Linked DNA regions of Homo sapiens: regions 2 and 3 are each linked to region 1. Evidence: promoter capture Hi-C in 16 types of primary human blood cells and fetal thymus (Javierre and others, 2016). All regions are on one chromosome and are shown on one strand. The core of a region is centred on a gene start or on the middle of the fragment in contact, and the rest is flanking DNA. Distances in the headings are between cores, read along the strand shown. Region 1 holds the start of NPAS2 (neuronal PAS domain protein 2). Region 2 has its middle 7.2 kb from the start of LINC01849. Region 3 overlaps NPAS2 (neuronal PAS domain protein 2).

What was found. The method cuts DNA at HindIII sites, captures the fragments that hold promoters and counts their contacts. A CHiCAGO score of 5 or more calls a contact.
Region 2: a fragment that was not itself captured here is called in contact with the fragment with the promoter of NPAS2 in region 1 in 3 of 17 cell types (naive CD4 T cells, non-activated CD4 T cells and activated CD4 T cells); the score reaches 6.2 in naive CD4 T cells.
Region 3: a fragment that was not itself captured here is called in contact with the fragment with the promoter of NPAS2 in region 1 in 1 of 17 cell types (endothelial precursors); the score reaches 6.4 in endothelial precursors.

What each region holds. Positions count from the first base shown.
Region 1 is chr2:100,818,127-100,821,715 of GRCh38, reverse strand. NPAS2 (neuronal PAS domain protein 2) reads right to left here and starts at 1,577. Exons shown (of 21, transcript NM_002518.4): 1 at 1,302-1,577. The HindIII fragment of the contact is 7,542 bases long and covers 1-3,589 here.
Region 2 is chr2:100,594,752-100,598,340 of GRCh38, reverse strand. No RefSeq gene overlaps it. Among named protein-coding and RNA genes, the nearest start is that of LINC01849, 7.2 kb to the left of the region's middle. The HindIII fragment of the contact is 4,254 bases long and covers 1-3,589 here.
Region 3 is chr2:100,965,483-100,969,071 of GRCh38, reverse strand. NPAS2 (neuronal PAS domain protein 2) reads right to left here. Exons shown (of 21, transcript NM_002518.4): 10 at 3,306-3,412; 11 at 644-791. Among named protein-coding and RNA genes, the nearest start is that of NPAS2-AS1, 9.9 kb to the left of the region's middle. The HindIII fragment of the contact is 1,523 bases long and covers 876-2,398 here.

The DNA of each region.
Region 1 (3,589 bases), core at 328-2,827:
GAGGGCAGCTCTGTGTTTAATGCAAGCCATAATTAGTTGGTCAATTCACTGATGGGGACCAAGCTACAGTGAGAGAGAGATGCTGGCAGAGATGTCTTGCTGGGAACTACTTTAGAACTAATTACCTGGGAAGTTCAAACAGGAAAAACCTTTCTATTAAGGAAAATAAGGTTTGGGTTCTAAATGATCAAGACGGTTTAGCTCGTCTCTGCTGATTAAGTTAATTTAATAAGTGATCAATGTTTTACCTGTAGGAAAACAGGCTAACCACTTTAATGAAGTTGGGGTGGATGCCAAAGCAACGCGTAAAGACGAAACTCCTCTCCGGGACCCTCCTGAACACCTGTTGAACTCCAGGGCTTCTAACTTTCCGTACTAAAGCCTCCCGGACACAAGCTCGGGAGTGTTTAGACTTTGTGGAAGTGCGTGCGTATATTCAAGGTTTCCATCTTGCTTAATCAACAAAACTAGTTACTAATTATTTATGAATCACAGGGCTGAAACAAACTTTCTTACCTTGAGCAATTAAGGAGTGGCAAGCAGAGGAGCGGGACTGGTTCTGAATTTAGCCGGGTGGTGCCTGTCCCTTCCCTGGTTACCGACCTGCCCAGCTCTTCAGAAAGGTCAAAGGTGCGTCCCTCCTCGGCTGGGAAAGGGGCACATCTCCCAACAAAACCATACGCATACATCCAACCTGGGGAGCTCCGGAGTTGGGGTGGGGGGGCGGCAGCGACGTGAGGAGCCAGGCTGCACGCTGTCTGCGCACACGGGGGTTGGGGGCACCGATTCCGCACCCAATCCGGCCCGGAACCAATTCCGACCCAGGGACTCCGAGAGACCGCGGGCCCAGGGCGCGCACGCCGCACTCTCCGGGGGTCCAGGACGCCCGACGTTTCGGAGGGTAGCGCGATGGGTCTCGAAGACAACCACGGGCAATCCCCAAAGCTGTTGCCCTGGGGCACGATCCTTCTCCACCCTGTCGGACACCCCGAGGACCCCCAAATTCCGAGGCTCGGATGCCCAGTCCTCTGTCTTCTGCGTCGAGACGCGCCCGGAGCCCACCGGCCCAGCGATTGCTACCTCCTGCAGGACGCGAAGCCCCCAGCGGCCTGACTGTGGAGGGGAACCCACCTCTCCGCGCCCCCGCGTCCGGGGTCCCCGGTGCCGCGCAGCCTCGCGCCTGAGCGCCCCTCCGCCCCCGCGCGTCCTCCACGCTGGCGAGCAGGTGACCGAGTCCTGCGACCCCGCGCGCACGTACTACCCACCCTGGGTCCCCCGCGCCCCTAGGCGCGGCCCCTTACCTCGGAGCGGGCCGGAGCGGCCCCGCGGGGCCGGGCGCGGACTGGGCCGGGGAGACGCGCCTCCCGCCGCCGCTGGGAGACGAGGCGGCGAGCGGGCGCGGCGAGCTCCTCCCGGGCGGCGGCGGGAGGCGCTGCTCTAGCTGCTGCCGCCGCCGCCGCCGCCGCCGCGGCTGCGGGTCTCCGGGCTCCGCGGCCGCCGCTCCTGGGCCGCAGCCGCGCGGGTCCCTCGGCTCCTGCGAGAGGCCGGCTGCTCGCGCGGCAAACTCTTCCGCACGCAGAGCCGGCGGGGAGAGCCGCCTCCGCCTCTGCCTCCTCCCCTGCCTCCTCCCTCCACCCTCCTCCCTCTCCACCTCCCCCTCCTACCCCCACCCTCCTCCTCCTCCCCTCGCCTGCCTCCGCCTGCGGGGTCTCTCCTGGCCCCGACCCAGCCTGGGACAAGCACCCCGCGCGCGCCGCAGGCAGACGGACCCCCGGCCCCCTAGACCCCCGGCTTCCCTGGGCGGCGCAGACACCCGCGAGTCCCCAGGCCGCCGCAGCCTCTGCTGGGCTGCCAGGGACGCGCGGCGGGGTCGGGCCTGGGGCGCAGGGTCGGGGTTGGGCGCCGGGGCTGGGGGAGGGGGGGGTTGTGCTTCCAGGTGAGCCGGCCCAGAGGAGAGGCAAGTGGACTAGAGGCTGCCAGCCGAGGTCCCATTAAAGTTGTCACTCGGGGGGAACAAGGAATCTGCCGCCCCCGCCTAGTGTAGACCCTCGCAGTGCGGGCCGCCACCCTGCTGTCCCGCGCAGGGGATGAAGGGGGACGAGCACGCGACTGTCACCCCCTCCACACTGTCCTCCAGGGGCAGGGTTGCGCGCAGGTCTCGACCCAGGGCACAAAGCGCGTCTCTGCGGGGACCACTGCGATTTCTCAATGAGCGGCGGGGGTGCGGCCCGGGGGCAGGTGGGAGGCGGGGGTCGGGGAAGATGCGGGCGAGCGGTGGTCGGCGGAGGACAGCAGCGACTGCTGGGGAGGAATAACCAGTGCCTGTCCTAAGGCGAACGTAGCTGGTCCGGAAAATGGGTCAAGGATGGAAAGGAACCGGCTAATTGCCCCCCTCCCCGGCAGGGGCACGTGGGGTGTGGGGCTGCGGCCAGGAGCGGGCACTTGGAGCTCCACTCTGCCTCTCCCTCCCCTCCTCCGCTGCCCTCCTCTCCTTTTGCACCAGTGCAGGAAATGTTCCACTGACCTACATATTTTTCCAAACATACGTGACCTTTTTTTTTTTTTCCTCTGTGGGAGGAGACAGGCGAGAATCCAAGAAAAAGAAGCTGGAGAGAGAGGCGCGCGCGAGAAACAGGGAGGATTTTACCAAGGTTCCCGCAAACGCCAAGCGGAGGGAGGCAGAGGTACAGGAATAATCCCCGGGTGCCGGGGCTGCTGTCTGATGCCCTTCGGGGCTCCAAGACAGAGCCGGTGAAAACCGGAGACCGTGTGCCCCGCCGAGGTCCGGAAACGTGGCCGGTTTCCCCTTCACCTGGGCGGCGGCGTTCACAGCGGGGAGGCGCCTGGGTGGAAGCCCGGGAGAGGGGAAAGGTCCCCCTGCCCGCTCCCACGAGGTCTCCGCTCCCCTGGCCTAGGTGCCTGGCCTGGCGCAGCGCTCCGAGCGTGGCAGCCTTTTCCGGACGTCTCTCCGTCCCTCTTACATTCCGGCAAGTGGCCCTGGAAGGAAAGCGCCCCCGCTGGCCCTTTTCTGTCATACTCGATTTTGTGGCCAGAAGGGGTCTCCTAGGGCCTTTGCCCCAAGCGCGCCAGGCCCCCGCGGTGGACTGGGGGTCGCCCCGGACGCTGTTCCTCTCGCTGTCTCGTCCTCTCCCTCGAGTTTGAGACGTGCCCTCTCCCTCGCAGATCCGACCAGCAGCGCCTTATTTGGGCATGCAACCCCACACCGTCAATTAGATCAAAACGCTCACACAGAGCTCCTTTTTACCCCCCCTGTAAAGTAGGTCATTCTCTTTATTTCCCACTTGTATTATTTGTGTCTAATTCTCCTCCTGAAAAATAATCAGCTGCAAGGAGCTTTGAGCATCCTAAGAGCAGCTGTTATTCTCAGGCTTGCTTCTGACTTGGAGGGCTTTTCAAGAAAGAGGAGGAGGCATTTGGCCTGTCATGATTTTGAAGTCCCTCCCTTTCCAAAAGAAGAAACTTTTGTTTGATGGATTTTATTTTGCTTTGTTTTTCTACCCCGTCCTTTTCCTCCAGGCAAGTAGGTTTCACCCCGCCTTTAGAGCGTGGCCATGACTAATATTACTAA
Region 2 (3,589 bases), core at 487-2,986, 220 kb after region 1:
TTGAGTCTCGAGAACTGTAGCAATTAACATAGGTTCAGATTTAATTATAAATCAGAATACCAAATTTTTAATTCAGAGGTTCCTAAACTTCCATTGGTTCATGGCTCAGTATTTTTTTCATTGTGCGCCTAAGTCAAAAGAAATACAGTTGACCCTTGAACAACAGGGATTTGAACTGCCTGGATCCACTTACATGTGACTTTTCTTCAACCAAATGCCAATTGAAAATACAATATTTAGGCCGGGCGCGGTGGCTCACGCCTGTAATTCCAACACTTTGGGAGGCCAAGGCGGGCAGATCACGAGGTCAGGAGATCAAGACCACCCTGGCTAACACGGTGAAACCCCATCTCTACTAAAAAATACAAAAAATTAGCTGGGCGTGGTGGCGGGTGCCTGCAATCCCAGCTACTTGGGAGGCTGAGGCAGGAGAATGGCGTGAACCCGGGAGACAGAGCTTGCGGTGAGCCAAGATTGCGCCACTGCACTCCAGCCTAGGCTACAGAGCAAGACTCTGTCTCAAAAAAGAAAAGAAAAGAAAAGAAAAGAAAAGAAAAGACAGTATTCTCCGGATGTTAAACCTGCCTATAAGACCTTTTAGGGCCAGGTGCATTGACTCATGCTTGTAATCTCAGCACTTTGGGAGGCTAAGATGGGTGGATTACCAGAGGTCAGGAGTTTGAGACCAGCTTGGCCAACATGGCGAAATCCCATTTCTATTAAAAATACAAAAAATAGCCGAGTGTGGTGGTGCACACCTGTAATCCCAGCTACCTGCAACGCTGAGGCAGGAAACCTGCTTGAACCCAGGAGAGGGAGGTTGCAGTGAGCCGAGATTACACCACTGCACTCCATCCTGGGCAACAGAGCGAGACTCTGTCTCAAAAAGACAAAAAACAAAACAAAACAAAACCTTTTATTTATTTATTTATTTATTTATTTATTTATTTATTTATTTATTTTTGAGATGGAGTCTTGTTCTGTTGCCCAGGCTGGAGTGCAGTGACATGACCTCAGCTCACTGCAACCTCCACCTCCCAGGGTCTTCAAGCAATGTTCCTGCCTCAGCCTCCTGAGTAGCTGGGACTACAGGCCTGCACCACCACGGCTGGCTAATATTTGTATTTTTAGCAGAGATGGGATTTTCTTATGTTGGCCAAGCTGATCTTGAACTCTTGACCTCGAGTCATCTGCTCACCTTGGCCCCCCACAGTGCTGGGATTACAGGCGTGAGCCAACACACCCAGCCTAAAAACACCTTTTCGTATAGGCAGGTTCTGCAGGGCTGACTGCAGGATTGAGTACGAGGATTTGGTTATTTGCTGGTGGTCCTGGCACCAATCCCCCGCATACACTCAGCGAGACTGTAACGACTTTTATTAAGCAGTTAGCGCCAAACAATTTATTTTTATTTTTATTTTTGTCAAACAATTTATTAAGGTTTTATGTCTTAAACTTTTAGATGCTTGACCAAATATATATGAAAAGTGAAAGGAAAATTACCTATTAATGTGAGTAAGTACCTGTTGGATGCTGCATAAGTCCTCCAACCTTGAAATTGGAGATACCTCTCCCTCATATCCTGCTCCACATTGATTTGAGCTCTACCTGCTTTTATCACAGCAACCGCTAAAAACCCAACTTCAGAAAGATCAAAGGAATGTAGCGCAAGCTAATATTGGAACTGCGAACTGTTGGGAGCTGGTGGTTCCTGAAGTATTCAATAAATGTTCAGTATTGCAGCGCTTCCCTTGAGAACTTATCCTGTGCCCACGAACTTGCTACTGGGTTCAGAGGCACTTCAGCAAATGGTTTAGGAACTGCAGCATTAATTTATACTGAGAAATAGAACTGCTACTTAAGAAAGATAACTGCCGGCCCAATGCGGTGGCTCACGCCTGTAATCCCAGCACTTTGGGAGGCCGAGGCTGGCGGATCACGAGGTCAGGAGATCGAGACCATCCTGGCTAACAGGGTGAAACCCTGTCTCTACCAAAAATAGAAAAAATTAGCCGGGTTTGGTGGGGGGCGCCTGTAGTCCCAGCTACTCGGGAGGCTGAGGCAGGAGAATGGCAAGAACCTGGAAGGCGGAGCTTGCAGTGAGCCGAGATCGCACCACTGCACTCCAGCCTGGGGGACAGAGCGAGACTCCATCTCAAAAAAAAAAAAAAAGAAAAAAAGAAAAACAAGAAAAGATAACTGCCAAGGGTACTGGACTTCTCACTTTTTTTGTTCCCAATAAGATTGAGAAACCAAATCAGAGTCAGAAAGCCTTTGGTGCCCAGAGAGATAATGTGGGGATGATAGATCCACCCCGACATGGATCTAGTTATTGCAGTTACTCTGTGTGTGTGTGTGTGCGTGTGTGTGTGTGTGTGCGTGTGTGTGTGTGTGTGTGGGTGTGTCTGGGTGCAGGCACGTAATACATTGTTTCATTTAGGTATCTCAAATCTCAGATGGAACAAAAAGTTGCAAGTTTGTGATGCTTTTCTGTAACATTTGCTAAAAGACAAAGGATTGATTTGTTAATTATTCAACTTTTTATTAAGTATAATTTTCATGTAAAACATGTAGCTGTATTTTGCAAGGTTTCTTTAAATTTTTCTGATTGTCATCTCAGAGAGAGTTACTTACCAAAGAAAAGTACTGGTTTTTAATTTTTTTTTTAAAGTTGTATTTTATATATATTCCAGGGATATTAACAGCCTTTTTCTTCTCAGGAAGTTGGTATATTCAGTATTTTAAATGTCAATAAACAGATTCAGGGAGTTAAAGATCTGCCTTCAAAATTAAAAGCTAGAAGGGTCAGGTTAAAATAACCTAACACACCTTCATCTATTGTGGGATAAAACTACAACATTTCATGGGTTCTAAGCATCCTCCCCTCATTGTTAATATCTCTGAGGTCAGGGTGCATCTTATGGTTACTGTGGCAGGTGGCAGCTGTGATCAAGTTGTCACAGGCCAGGCGCGGTGGCTCACGCCTGTAATCCCAGCACTTTGGGAGGCCAAGGCGGGTGGATCACGAGGTCAGGAGATCGAGACCATCCTGGCCAATATGGTGAAACTCTGTCTCTACTAAAAATACAAAAATTAGCCAGGCATGGCAGTGCATGCCTGTAATCCCAGCTACTCAGGAGGCTGAGGCAGGAGAATCGCTTGAACCAGGAGTCGGAGGTTGCAGTGAGCTGAGATTGCACCACAGCACTCCAGTCTGGCGACAGAGTGAGACTCCGTCTCGAAAAAAGAAAAAAAGAAAAAGAAAGTTGTCACTGCATGCCACCTTCTGGTGGGATCAAGAAAGCACCAGCATCAAAACTAGCAGAAAAGACACTAGAGCTGGACTCTGAATGGAAGGACATTTTTAGGAATACCTTTACCAACTTACAGGAAGACCTCATGTTATTGCACGTTACATACACTGTTTTTTACAAATTGAAGGGTTGGAGCAAACCTGCATCAGGCAAGCCTATCAGTGCCATTTTTCCAACAGCATGTGCTCACTTCATGTCTCTGTCACATTTTGATAGTTCTTGCAATATTACCAACTTTTTCATTATTATTATATCTGCTAGGATGATCTGATCAG
Region 3 (3,589 bases), core at 388-2,887, 150 kb before region 1:
AGAAGACCATTTTCCCCTTCATCCTTGGGAACAGTGACCCCACAAAGGCAGCATCTATGAAACCCTGGGCATGCCGCGTCTCTTTAAAGTCCTGCTCACCCGCCCTGGGTGGAGGGCTCCCTGAGGCCAGCAGGGACCTCCCAGGAACCCGCGCCCACTGGCAGCCAGGCTGTTTTCCCAACACTGCCTCAGTTGCCAGCAGGGGTTTTTAAAGCATTAAAAATAAAGGGGAATATGTGTTTGAGTTATTTAGAGGTAAAATTTAAATTTTCTACTCAAAGCAGGAACAAGGGAAGGCTGTGGGCTGGATAGAGATGGGAAAATATGTAAGTAGGTCAGTGAAGCAGTCACTTACTAAGTAATATCCTGGCAGCCTGCGAGAGTCCATGAGGCGTTCAAAGGGGCCTGACTGAGAGCTTGAAAGGAGTCTCAGCCCTGGGAGGGCAGAGCCAGTGGTGCCTGGAAGCGAGCTGAGCTCTGGGAATTGTGCTGTTAACGGCAGGGGATGGCCTGGGCTTCATCTTCGAAATGGGGAACACCTGAGTGACTGCTGATCTGACTTGGCCATCAGGGGCCACGCCATCCTGCACCCCTCCCCCAGGTGCGACAAGGACGCAGCCGCACCCCTGCCCGTGCGCGGTACCTGACCACCGAGTGTGTGCACACGATGAACTCGGGCTTGGAGTTCCACTGATGGTAGGTGATGTAGTAGTGAGTCTGCAGCCAGATCCACTGCTGACCTTTGGTCAGAAACCGGTAGCAACACGACTTCCCTTTGCCAAACTGCATCACTGTCGGTAGAAAATGGATTCCGCATATAACCAATGTTAATATGAAAATGATCTTTTCCCCAAGAGTTATTGTAAAGATAAGCTTTCAAAAAAAAAGACAATACCAAACATGGCTTGTTTCCCCGGTTGCCCTGTATTTTAAGTGACTGTCAGGATCACGGTACACTGTCGTGAATTCTTAAACAGTGGAAGAGTGATCCATATACTTTCCCAAATGCTCAGACGCTTAAAGAGATCCTCAGATAAGGGCAGATGCAGACAGATTTTCAAACTGCAGGTTTAATGAAACAGAGGCTCAGGTTTGCCTGGTGCTCATCCTCCCGCCGCAGGCAGAGCTGTCTTTGGAGCTGCAGGAGCCCAGGAGAGAGCATCCAGAATTGGCCCGAAAACAGACCTGCCAGCCAGCAACCTCTGGACGGATTCTGTGGCTGCCAGTCAGCAGTTCATGCCCAGTCGACACAGTTCTCAAATAAAGAGTCGGGGACAGATGCCTCCACCCCAGGCTTCCCCCTTCCCCAGAGCTGCTTGCAGCCCCCCCATAGTGATGTCTGCTGGTGGCTTTTCTAGGGGTGTCCAGAGCAGAATGGATGCTGATGGTGTATCAAGCCTGGGCAGGGCAGAAAGATGGACTACGGATCCAAGGAAGAAGAATGATTTGGGTTTTATTGCCATAGTGCCTGGAACTTAGCACCTCTTTAGGTAAATGGTTAAGAGAAATCTCAACTAGGAAACTAACGCTACAAAAGGACACTGATGGCTGGGCACAGGGGCTCATGCCTGTAATCCCAGCACTTTGGGAGGCTGAGGCAGGCGGATCATGAGGTCAGGAGATCGAGACCATCCTGGCGAATACGGTGAGACCCCATCTCTACTAAAAATACAAAAAATTAGCCGGGTGTGGTGGCGGGCGTCTGTTGTCCCAGCTACTCACGAGGCTGAGGCAGGAGAATGGCGTGAACCCGGGAGGCGGAGCTTGCAGCGAGCCGAGACTGGGTGACAGAGTGAGACTCTGTCTCAAAAAAAAAAAAAAAAAAAAAAAAAAAGGACACTGACTTGGAGAATGTGATTATCTGAAGAGGAGATAAGCCCAGCAGATTGAGGGTGTGGGCTCCACAGGGCAAGGAGGTCTTGCCCAAGCCATGGAGAAGCCTTTCAATTGCTGAATGTAATTCTTCACTTCGGGATCTTGTTAAAATAGACACTCTGAGTAGGCCTGATTCTACAAGTGTAGCAAACTTCCCGTGATGCCTATGCAGTGTGGTCCTAGACCACGCTTTGAGGAGCAAGGAGTTACAGTTTTAATGATTAGCTTTAAATTCTAACAGCCGATCCAGATGGAACTCAAGCCTATTCTTCCTTCCCTCTCCACAGAAGAGAAAGTTCTAGCCAGGCACAGTGGCTTATGCCTGTAATCCAAGCATTTTGGGAGGCCGAGGTGAGCAGATCATTTGAAGTCAGGAGTTTGAGACCATCCTGACCAACATGGTGAAACCCTGTCTGTACTAAAAATACAAAAAATTAGCTGGGCGTGGTGGCACACACGCCTGTAATCCCAACTACTCTAGAGGCTGAGGTGGGAGAATTGCTTGAACCCAGAAGGTGAAGCTTGCAGTGAGCCGAGATTGCGCCACTGCACTCCAGCCTGGGTGACAGAGCGAGAATCTGTCTGTCTCAAAAAAAAAAAAAAAAAAAAAAGTTCTAATGGGTACTACAGGTGAGGCATCTTTTAAAGCACAATGTTAGTGGTCGATTCATGCATTAGGATCAATAGGTCAGTGTTCCTATTTCAAGTTAAGAGTTGGCACTGAAAATACAGCTGTAAGTGGTTAATTCTTGAAACCACTTGCTAAGTGAGAACTCGGACAAGCTTGTAATTCTCACTCCCCCACATCGTAAGTCCCATCCCCCATACATTTGCTAATGTGTTCGCCTCGTATGTGGCAAAGAGCCTTCCCTGAACCCCAGCTGTGAGGGTCCTCTTGAGTCCCCCAGTATGCTGTGTACATCCCCTTCAATGCACCGACCACATCCCACAAAGTCACCCATTTCTGGCTTTCCCAGAAGACCTGCCCTGCGGGACAGCAAGTAGGTACTGATCATCCCCATATGCCAGCCTACTCAGTATCTGGCCTATGGTTAGTGACCAATACTTATCTGCTGATGAAAGAACAGTTATGAGAATTCGGTATTTTATCTCTGAAATGTATTGCATAACTTAAAAAAAAAAATCCCTGCATCACCTTAATTTCTTAATTAGGTTTAAACAGGGCGCCTATCTGGATGACAGTGGGAAGGTGCTAGGGTTTGGGGCCAAGTGAATTCCAGTGACATGGGGGTAGACGCGGATAAGGGGCCTCCACCATGCCCCCAGATCATCTCAGAGAAAACCAAGTTCCTCACCTTAAAAAGAAACCAGGTAACGAGCAGAGGCTTCTGGAGTCCCAGAGCCCTGCTGCTGGGCCCCAGTGGAGTGAACGCAAGGCCCCCATGCCTGGGCTGGGCAGTGGTACTCACGGTGCTGGTGACACCTGGCCAGGAGCTCCAGGTCATCAATGTGGTAGTAGTCATAGCCTGAGGTTCCCAGCACTTCAAAAGGCAGGTATCCTATGATTGGAGGTGCTCTGCACAAGGACAAGGAGGACTTGTCATCAGGGAGGAGACACCCTGCAGGGCTCACCCTGGTGGCCATGCCTTTCCATAATGATCAACATGGAGGCCTCATTTCTCAAGAACAAGGGGAGAAAAATAACTTTGTAATGGTCAAAATCAGAGAGGCTGTGTTTTCCAAAGGGCTCAGC